Linked DNA regions of Homo sapiens: regions 1 and 3 are each linked to region 2. The links are contacts of gene promoters, found by promoter capture Hi-C in human tissues and cell types (Jung and others, 2019). All regions are on one chromosome and are shown on one strand. The core of a region is centred on a gene start or on the middle of the fragment in contact, and the rest is flanking DNA. Distances in the headings are between cores, read along the strand shown. Region 1 overlaps BTRC (beta-transducin repeat containing E3 ubiquitin protein ligase). Region 2 holds the start of LBX1 (ladybird homeobox 1). Region 3 overlaps BTRC (beta-transducin repeat containing E3 ubiquitin protein ligase).

Region 1 (2,990 bases), core at 482-2,981, 150 kb after region 2:
TGGCACTCGTTTTTTTATGGCCTGTTACAGTCTCTGTAACAATCATTTCTTAAGTCTGAACGTTTTATTTCCAGGAATCCATTTATATAAAACTATGTTTAGACTTAATTAAGGAACGATTCTTACAAAGCTTGTAAATAGCCAGGAAAAAAGGGACAGAAAATAAAACTGACATTCACATTTAACAAAATGATTGTTACAAGGTATGTAATAAGCTATAAAAATACAATAAAGCCCTTTTTATAAGAGTTCATATTTTTTGATCCTTGTTTTCAAAGGTATTTAAGAAAAATATCAAAGCTTTGCAAAGTGACATCTGTTTGCTGAATGGACTAGTTATAACTTCTTTTGTTTATAACTGACAATACGAGAATTCTACCTGTTTTGTTAGTGTGTCTTCTTTGAAATACCTTGTAATTAGTTTAGATTGGTAGGTAAATTTTACGTTGTACCATAGTGAAAACAAGACCTGGTTTTCAGGTTCTGCTTCCTAGATGTCATAGATATTGGGCATGTTGCTTAACCTCCTTGAGTCTCACTTTCCTCATATAGAAAGCAAAGATAATATCTACTTTTGTACCTCAAAGAGCTGTTATGAGGAGTAAATGAAATTATTATAAATAGAGCAAATATTTTGGAAATTATAAAGGACTGTAAGCATCCAGATCATGTGTCTCTTAAAGATGAATTAGATTTAACAACCTCTTTTTTTTTTTTAATTAAAAAGTAAACTTTAATGTCAAAAATGCAAACTTGGGGAGGGCAGAAAGATCACACACAAGGCTGTGCCTTCACACTTGGAGGGTTGCACAGCAGCCGGGCAGAGGTACTCCTCACTTCCCAGACGGTGGGGCGGCTGGGCAGAGGCACTCCCCACTTCCCAGACAGGGCAGCGGCTATTAAGAACCTCTTTTAATTAGCAAACTTCCTTCTCTTGTTCATGCATTCTGTCAAGTACATACATGTACATCCTTTTTGAAATGACACTTATTTTTCCATTTCCTTGTCTAAGTATAAGTGATTGAAACCACTATTGGCATAGTGGAAATTACACAAGAATTGGAGTCAGAAGAACTGGTTTCAAGTCCTGTCTTAACTACAGTCATGCATTGCTTAACAATATGTGATACATTATGAGAAATACATTGTTAGGTGATTAAGTGGTTGTGTGAGCTTCACAGAGTGTACATAGACAAATCTAGATAGTATACCTTACTATACACAAATGCCATGTGATATAACCTGTTGCTTGTGCAGTTTGTTACTGTACACTGAATCCTGTAAGCCATTGTAACACAATGGTATTTGTATATCTAAACATAGAAAGGGTACGGTAAAAATACAGTGTTATAATTTTATGAGACCACTGTTGCATATCTGACCATACTTGACTGAAGTGTCAGGGGGTGCATGACTGTATTTTTACTTATTCTCTGACCTTATTCTTGGGTGGTGATAATAATAACAATAATAATGGCAGCCAACACTTGTAGCTCAGTATATACCGTGCAGGATTCTAGACACTATATATATTAACTCATTTGATCCTCTCATCTTATTAGGTGTGTATTATTATTATCATCCTGATTTACAAATGTGGAAACTGAGGCACAGACAGGTTGTTACTTTTTCCAGATCAAACAGTTTGTGAATGGCACAGCTGGTATTCCAGCTCAGACATTCTAGCTCCAGAGTGAGTGTGGTTAATCATTGTGCTATACTAACCATGTTCCTTAATTTCCTCTTCTCTAAAATGAGAATAACAATAACTGTTCTATCTACTGGGTTGAAGATCCAGTAAGAGAGTACACATAAAAGCACTTTGACATCACAGTGTACCATAAATAGAAGTTATATGTGAACTGTAGAATTAGCATGCACCTTAGAGTAGGTATTTTATAGTTTTTTGGTGGGTGAGGGATGTTATCTTTTGACTTATTTTTGAGAAATATAATTTTGAAGAGAGGTGTTGATGGTGTCATTCTTTTTTCAACTCCTCAGAAAAATTATGAGAAACACACGATGATAACTCATATATCCCTCACCTGAATTATCTAATTGTTAACATTTTGCCACATTTGACTTTTCCTAGTATATACTTTCTTTCTAAATTATTTGAGAGTTGCAGACATGATATTTTACCTTCTGCATGTATTTTCTAAGAACAAGAGCATCCTTATTCCTAACCTCAATACAAGATCCCACTCAGGAAATTTAACACTGATCACTGATAACCTTTTATTATTTAATATACAGTTCATATCCAGAACCCCTAGTTATCCTAAGAATGTCTTTTTTTTTTTTTTTTTTTTTTTTTTTTTTTTTTTTTTGAGATGGCGTCTTGCTCTGTTGCCTAGGCTGGAGTGCAGTGGCGTGATCTCAGCTCACTGCAACCTTCGCCTCCCAGGTTCAAGTGATTCTTCTGCCTCAGCTTCCTGAGTAGCTGTTATTACAGGCACCTGCCACCACGCCCGGTTAATTTTTGTATTTTTAGTAGAGATGGGGTTTCACCATGCTGGCCAGGCTGGTCTCGAACTCCCGACCTCAGGTGATCCACCTGCCTCAGCCTCCCAAAGTGCTGGGATTACAGGCATGAGCCACCGCGTCCGGCCCCTAAGAATGTCTTTTACAGCTCTTTAAAAAAAAATCCAGGATCCAATCATGTTATATATAATATCTCTTTAGTTTCCTTTAATTTACAGTAGTTCCCTAATGGTTTTTATTCATGAAATTGACATTTTTGAAGAGTTTGAGGTAGTTTTACAGAATGTCCCTCATTTGTTTTTGTCTGATTGTTTTTCCATGATTAGATCAGGGTAAAAAATTTGGCAGGAGTATAATATATGCTGTGTTTTTTTTTTCTTAGTGCACTACTACATCAGAAGGCATATAATGTCAGTTTGTTCCATTATTGGAGATATTGTTTGATCATTTATTAAGGTTGTATTCACTAGATTTCTCTGTTGTAAAGGTATATTTGTAAGTATTCA
Region 2 (2,922 bases), core at 230-2,729:
CAGAAGTCCCTAGGAAAAATTGTTTTGGTCTCTGCCCCCTACCTAAGAGTTGGTTTGAAAGACCCAAAGTCTCTAAGGGTATGAGAAAGCCAGACAGAGACACCCTAATTGCGGTGTGAATGTTGGTTCTCCATCCCTTCCCAATCACTTCAACTCTACCCTACCCATAAGGTCCCCGGCAAAAGACTCTCGATTCCCCACGCCGAGTAGCCGGGCTAAGAGCGCCCAGGACACTGGGAACGCAAGGGAGCCCGGCAAAGCAAGCAGACTGCGGAAAGAGCTTGGCCACCCTTCTCCTGCCACCCCCCAGCTCTGGCCTACCCAGAGGTCCCTGGGAAATAAGGATTGGGTCCCGTCCCACATATCTTCACTCCCATAAGCAGCTGCTCAGGCTGGAAGGCCCTGGCGGCCGGAGAGGGCAGAGGCGAGCAGAGGCATAGGGGACGAAGCGCGCAGGGCACAGGGCGCGAGGCGCTGGGTGCAGGGGAACCCAGCAGCTGCGCCTACCTTCGGCTGCCTGCAGAACGCTGACCTCCAGCCCCTTAAACGTCTTGCTGGCGAGCTCCTCCAGCGCGCACAGCGGCGAGGTCTGCGAGAGCAGCGCGCGGCCCGCCAGGGGCAAGCCGCCCTGCGCGTGCTTGTCCGCGGCGGCCAGCAGGTGCGCCGCCCCGCACAGCGAGTAACTTCTCCGCACAGACGGCTTGTTGAGGATGTCCTCGATGCTGAACGGCGTCAGTGGCTTGTTGGAGTTGGCAGGCGGAGGCAGGTGGTCCAGCGGGCTGCGCCGCCGCTCCTCCCCCGGCGCCGCCTTGCCGTCCTCCTTGGAAGTCATCTCGGCCTTGTTCGGGGTCCCGGCCGGGGCGGCTCGGGCCGCGGGGACCCAGCCCGCGGGCAGCTCGGGCGCCGGACGGCGCGGGCAGGCAGCGGCGGGTGGAAAGGAGGCCGCACTGGGCAGGGCGCGGGCCGGGCGCGGGGCCGATTAGCGCGGCGGCTGAGGAGGGGAGAACAGCGCGGGGCCCCGGGAAGAGGGCGCTGACGCGGGCGCCGCTGCTGCTGGGGCTTCCAGCAATCCGGGGCCGGAGCCGGGGCGCGCTGCGCGGGGCTCCAGTTTCGCCAACCCCGGTGCTATTTAAAGGTGTCAGGTGGCTCGGCAGTGGCTCCTGGCCCCGGGTCCTGGCGGCCGCAGTTGGAAGAGCCGAGGCGAGGGCGCCGATCCCGGACTGCGAGGGAGGCGGAGAGACGGGGCAATTGACTATTGCTAACAAGTTAGCCTTGATCGCGGTGTAATCAATTATCTGCAGCGGCACTTCTTTCTCTTTCTCTCTCCTTTCTCCCTTTTTCCTCTCTTCTTTGCCTCTGTTCTCTCCTCCTGTTCTCGCTCTCCCTCCCTCCCTCTCTCTTCTCTCTTCTCTGCTCCCCCCTTCTCTCTCCTTCTCTCCCTCTCCCTCGCCCTCTCTTTCACTCTCTGTCTGTCCAATGCAGGCGGCTGTAAGTTGGGAAGCTCATTAATTAGCGGGCCGGGGGTAGGAGGAGCCGGCTGGAATTAGCCTGCCTAATGCGCCTGTCAGTCCGGGCGCTGCGCTGCGTTCGGCCCGAGCTGTTTGTAAATTACATTAGCTGCTCCTTTATTGCACCCGAACCTCGGGCGACTGAAAAGCCACCGCCCCCACCCCAAACTGCGAGCCGCGCTCCTGGCGCACCCGCCTCCCGCCGGCCTAGCTGCAATGACCGCACCGGCCCGAAGGTCTCGGTCTCTCCGACCCGGGATGTGGAGCCCGAAAGAGTGGTGGGAACCCCAGCCCGGGAGGGACGCGGCCGCCGCTCGGGCCAGGTAGGACCAGGAGCCCGGGTGGGCCCCGCTGCCACCCAGAGTGGACTTTGCGGAGCTGAGATCAAGAGCCCAGCGCCTCTACCTCTGACCCTCTTGCCCCTCACCCCACTGCCTGGGCGACGCGCCTGGGGAGAGGGAATCTGAAGCCCTCCTGCGCTGGCCCGCAGGAGGTCAGAGCCGGCTGCGCAGCCTTGGGTGGGCGACGCGGGAAGGGGGTGGAGGACCCCAGGGGTTGGGGGAGGGGGCTAGTCGGAGAGCTCAGCCTTCTCCACGCGGAGAGGCGGAGGAGGGAATTGTTGGCGGCTCTGGACGCCTCTCCCCGGCCTGATTCCGAAGCGGCCGCCCTACCTCCTCCGGCAATCTTGCTCACTTTCCTCCGGCAGCCGCTCCCCAGGCTGGCTGGGGCCACCAACGGCCTGATGATGGGCGTCTGAAGAGTAGCCAGGCCAGGTGCCGGGGCTAACGGGGCCGGCTCCGTGCCTCCCTGCTGCGCTCCGCCCGGGCCCCGGCCGGGGCCCCGCTGCCGGCCCCGCCTAGCCCAGCGCCCGGCTTGAGTGCATGGCCAGGCCGACTCCAGCTGTTCCGGATGCGGGGCGGGGGCCCGGCGGGAGCCAGGCCGCGGCTGGGGCTTTGCTCTCAGGAACTCGCAGGGAGGCCAGGCTTCCAGTTAGGCTGGGGCTAAAGACCTTAGGGCCCGGGATCTGTGAATATCGGGAGAACATGTTGTGTGCATTGTTACTTGAAGGTGTTTGTGTTTTTGAATGTGTGTTTGTGTGTGTTTCTCCATGCGTATATTTGTGTAAATGTGTGTGAACCTGTGGGTATATAGGTGTGTTTGAACTCAGCTATTTCTTTCATTTCCCTGAGGCATTCCAGCAGGGCTGTGCCCTCAGGCCTTCCTGTCTTGCTACCCCATTCTGTTTATGTGGGGCCACTGGCCTCCTTACTAATTTTCCATTTCTGCCCTTGGAGAAAGGAGGGGAGGACCTAGAGGGGGTTGGAGTCCAGGGAGAAGGGCTGTTCCCCTCCCACACACACACAGCCCTGGCCCTGGCTTTGTTTGTAAACTCCTGGGTGGGCGGTGAGGTTGG
Region 3 (2,931 bases), core at 106-2,605, 190 kb after region 2:
TTCTAGGGTTTTTATGGTTTTAGGTCTAACATTTAAGTCTTTACTCCACCTTGAATTAATTTTTGTGTAAGGTGTAAGGAAGAGATCCAGTTTCAGCTTTCTATATATGGCTAGCCAGTTTTCCCAGCACCATTTATTAAATAGGGAATCCTTTCCCCATTTCTTGTTTTTGTCAGGTTTGTCAAAGATCAGATAGTTGTAGATGTGTGTTATTATTTCTGAGGGCTCTGTTCTGTTCCATTGGTCTATATCTCTGTTTTGGTACCAGTACCATGCCGTTTTGGTTACTGTTGCCTTGTAGTATAGTTTGAAGTCAGGTAGCATGATGCCTCCAGCTTTGTTCTTTTGGCTTAGGATTGACTTGGCAATGCGGGCTCTTTTTTGGTTCCATATGAACTTTAAAGTAGTTTTTTCCAATTCTGTGAAGAAAGTCATTGGTATTGATATTGATTCTTCCTATCCATGAGTTTTTTTTAATTAAGTTAAATTTTTTTTATTTTCCAGTTTTTCATAAAAATAGAGATGGGGTCTAGTTATGTTGACCAGGCTGGTCTTGAACTCCTGGTCTCAAGCAGTCCTCCCACCTTGGCCTCCCAAAGTGGTGGGATTATACACATGAGCCACCTTGCCTGACCCTCTCTGGGTCTTATTTACCTTACTAGTTTATTATACAGGTGAATGAATTGGGGAAGAGCTTGTTCCGCAATTCATTGCCAAACAATGAATTGTTAGACTGACAAAGCTAACTAACAAAGCTTGTTAGTTTGTTATACAGAGAATGTTATACAGATGCAGCTTGTTAGTTTGTTATACATATAGTAACAAGTGCTACAATAAAATTAAAGTCTGTGACTGAGCTTTTCTAAATATTTGAAAATTTACCTAAACTTATAGTAGCTGTTGTCTAATGCAATTTAGTACATTGTTAAATTTTTTCTTGTAGTTACTATTTGTTAGTAGTTTATCTCCTTGAAATAGAGTGTAAACTACTTGAGTCTGTGGATTTGTGGAGACAAACACATTTGAGTATTATTTCTGCCATTGTCATTTAGGCACTATAACTTCACTGAACTTGAGTGTACTCTCTTGTTAAGGCAAAAGTACTAATAATTCTTTGACAAGAAGGTAATGCTTAAATGAAATAATGTACTTAAGGGATCTAGTACAATGCCTGGCAGACAGTTTATTCCCGGTAAACTTTACTTATCCTCTTTTTGTACTCCACCTGTGCCCACTTTGGTAATGAAAAAATAAATGGCTTCCCAGAACAGTTTGAAATGCAAGTGGCATTCACAGAAGCCTATTCCTGGTGATGATGCCATTTATATTTTTTTCTTTTGCACTTTGCAGCTTTTAGAATCCTTATTTTAGCCGGGTGAGGTGGCTCGTGCCTGTAATCCCAGCACTTTGGGAGGCCAAGGCAGGTGGATCACCTGAGTTCAGGAGTTCGAGACCAGCCTGGCTAACATGGAGAAACCCTGCCTGTCTCTACCAAAAATACAAAAATTAGTCAGGCGTGGTGGTGCATGCCGGCAGTCCCAGCTACTCAGGAGGCTTAGTCAGGAAAATCACTTGAACCTGGGAGGCGGAGGTTGCAGTGAGCCGAGATCATGGCATTGCACTCCAACCTGGGCAACAAAAGTAAAACTCTGTCTCAAAGAAAAAAAAAGAATCCTTGTTTTAGTTTTACCACAACCTTGTGCAATAAGGCTGGGCAGATATGATTATCCTATCTGACAGGTGGGAGTTTTGTTTTTGGAGTGAACTAAATTGGGATTCTTAAGAGGCAATCATTGGATTTGTAGGTAAAGTCTGAATGTATTACATGATTATGGTATACTGCATTTCTCTGAATTTCTTAGTTGATATAGTAGTGAAAAGGGAATTCTTCTATTCCATGGCTTAAGGATACGTAAACTCTCAGTACAGCAATCTTTTTATTGTTGATTATTATAGCTTCTGTTACTCCTAGAAGTTGACCAACAGGGACCTTAATTTAGGAGATTTTGTCATTCAGCTTTCGTATAGTAAATGCTGAGGCTAGCCCTTTGCCTGCAGGGCTATCAGTGAAGAGGATCTGTGACATTACTCCAGACAGCCAAGTGTAGGGGGAAGAGTTGAGATTTTCAGTGTTCTCTGTGTAAATGAATTGTGCCATTGAACCTGATGGGCACTAGATACTATATTCTTCTTGAAGCACTGGAGGCCCTTCATTGCAATCTTGTTTTTTCAACTTTTATTTTAAAATTGGGGTATATGTGCAGGTTTGTTACAGAGATATACTGCACGATGCTGAGGTTTGGAGTCTGAGTGAATCTCACCCAGGTAGAGAGTGCAAAGTACCCATAGGTAGTTTTTTCAAGCTTTACCCCCTTTGTCCTCCCACCTTTTGTATTCCTCAGTGTCTGTTCCCTTCTTTATGTCCATGTGTACTCAAGGTTTTGTTCCTATGTATAAGTGAGAAAATGTGGCATTTGGTTTTCTGTTTCTGCATTAGTTCGCTTAGGATAATGGCTTCTAGCTGCATCCATGTTCTGCAGAGGACATGATTTCATTATTTTTTATGGCTACTTAGTATTCCATGGTATATGTGTACTGCATTTTCTTTATCCAGTCTTCCGTTGATGGGTACCTGGGTTGATTCTGTGTCTTTACTATCGCATTGCAGCATTTCAATTTTTTTTCTGATTCAGGTAGTAGAAAACATGTTCAGTCTTATTTTTTTCTGTGCTGTGTATGCTTTTTAAAGGCTAGTGAAGTCATTCAGTTGGATAACAACAATTATAATACATTGTTATACTCTTCAACTTTCTTTGATTTTGCAAAGGAGAGTCAATTGGGGTGACGTTAGGTGGGAACTGAGCTGAAGAAACTAATATGTGCTGTGCAGGGCTGGATTTGTGTAGGATGCAGTCATTATCTGTTAACTTT

What was found. Contacts are between HindIII fragments. The study calls those that stand out against the background at their distance.
Region 1: a contact is called between a fragment that was not itself captured here and the fragment with the promoter of LBX1 in region 2, in 2 of the 25 tissues and cell types used here (hippocampus and liver).
Region 3: a fragment that was not itself captured here is called in contact with the fragment with the promoter of LBX1 in region 2 in 2 of the 25 tissues and cell types used here (hippocampus and lymphoblastoid cells).

What each region holds. Positions count from the first base shown.
Region 1 is chr10:101,379,671-101,382,660 of GRCh38, forward strand. All of the region lies in intron 1 of BTRC (beta-transducin repeat containing E3 ubiquitin protein ligase), which reads left to right. Among named protein-coding and RNA genes, the nearest start is that of BTRC, 27 kb to the left of the region's middle. The HindIII fragment of the contact is 7,585 bases long and covers 1-2,990 here.
Region 2 is chr10:101,227,984-101,230,905 of GRCh38, forward strand. It overlaps LBX1 (ladybird homeobox 1), which reads right to left and starts at 1,480. Exons shown (of 2, transcript NM_006562.5): 1 at 508-1,480. The coding sequence starts at 832. LBX1-AS1 (LBX1 antisense RNA 1) reads left to right here and starts at 1,611. Exons shown (of 3, transcript NR_029380.1): 1 at 1,611-1,831. The HindIII fragment of the contact is 30,882 bases long and covers 1-2,922 here.
Region 3 is chr10:101,422,579-101,425,509 of GRCh38, forward strand. The region is part of intron 1 of BTRC (beta-transducin repeat containing E3 ubiquitin protein ligase); the gene reads left to right. Among named protein-coding and RNA genes, the nearest start is that of BTRC, 70 kb to the left of the region's middle. The HindIII fragment of the contact is 5,073 bases long and covers 1-2,931 here.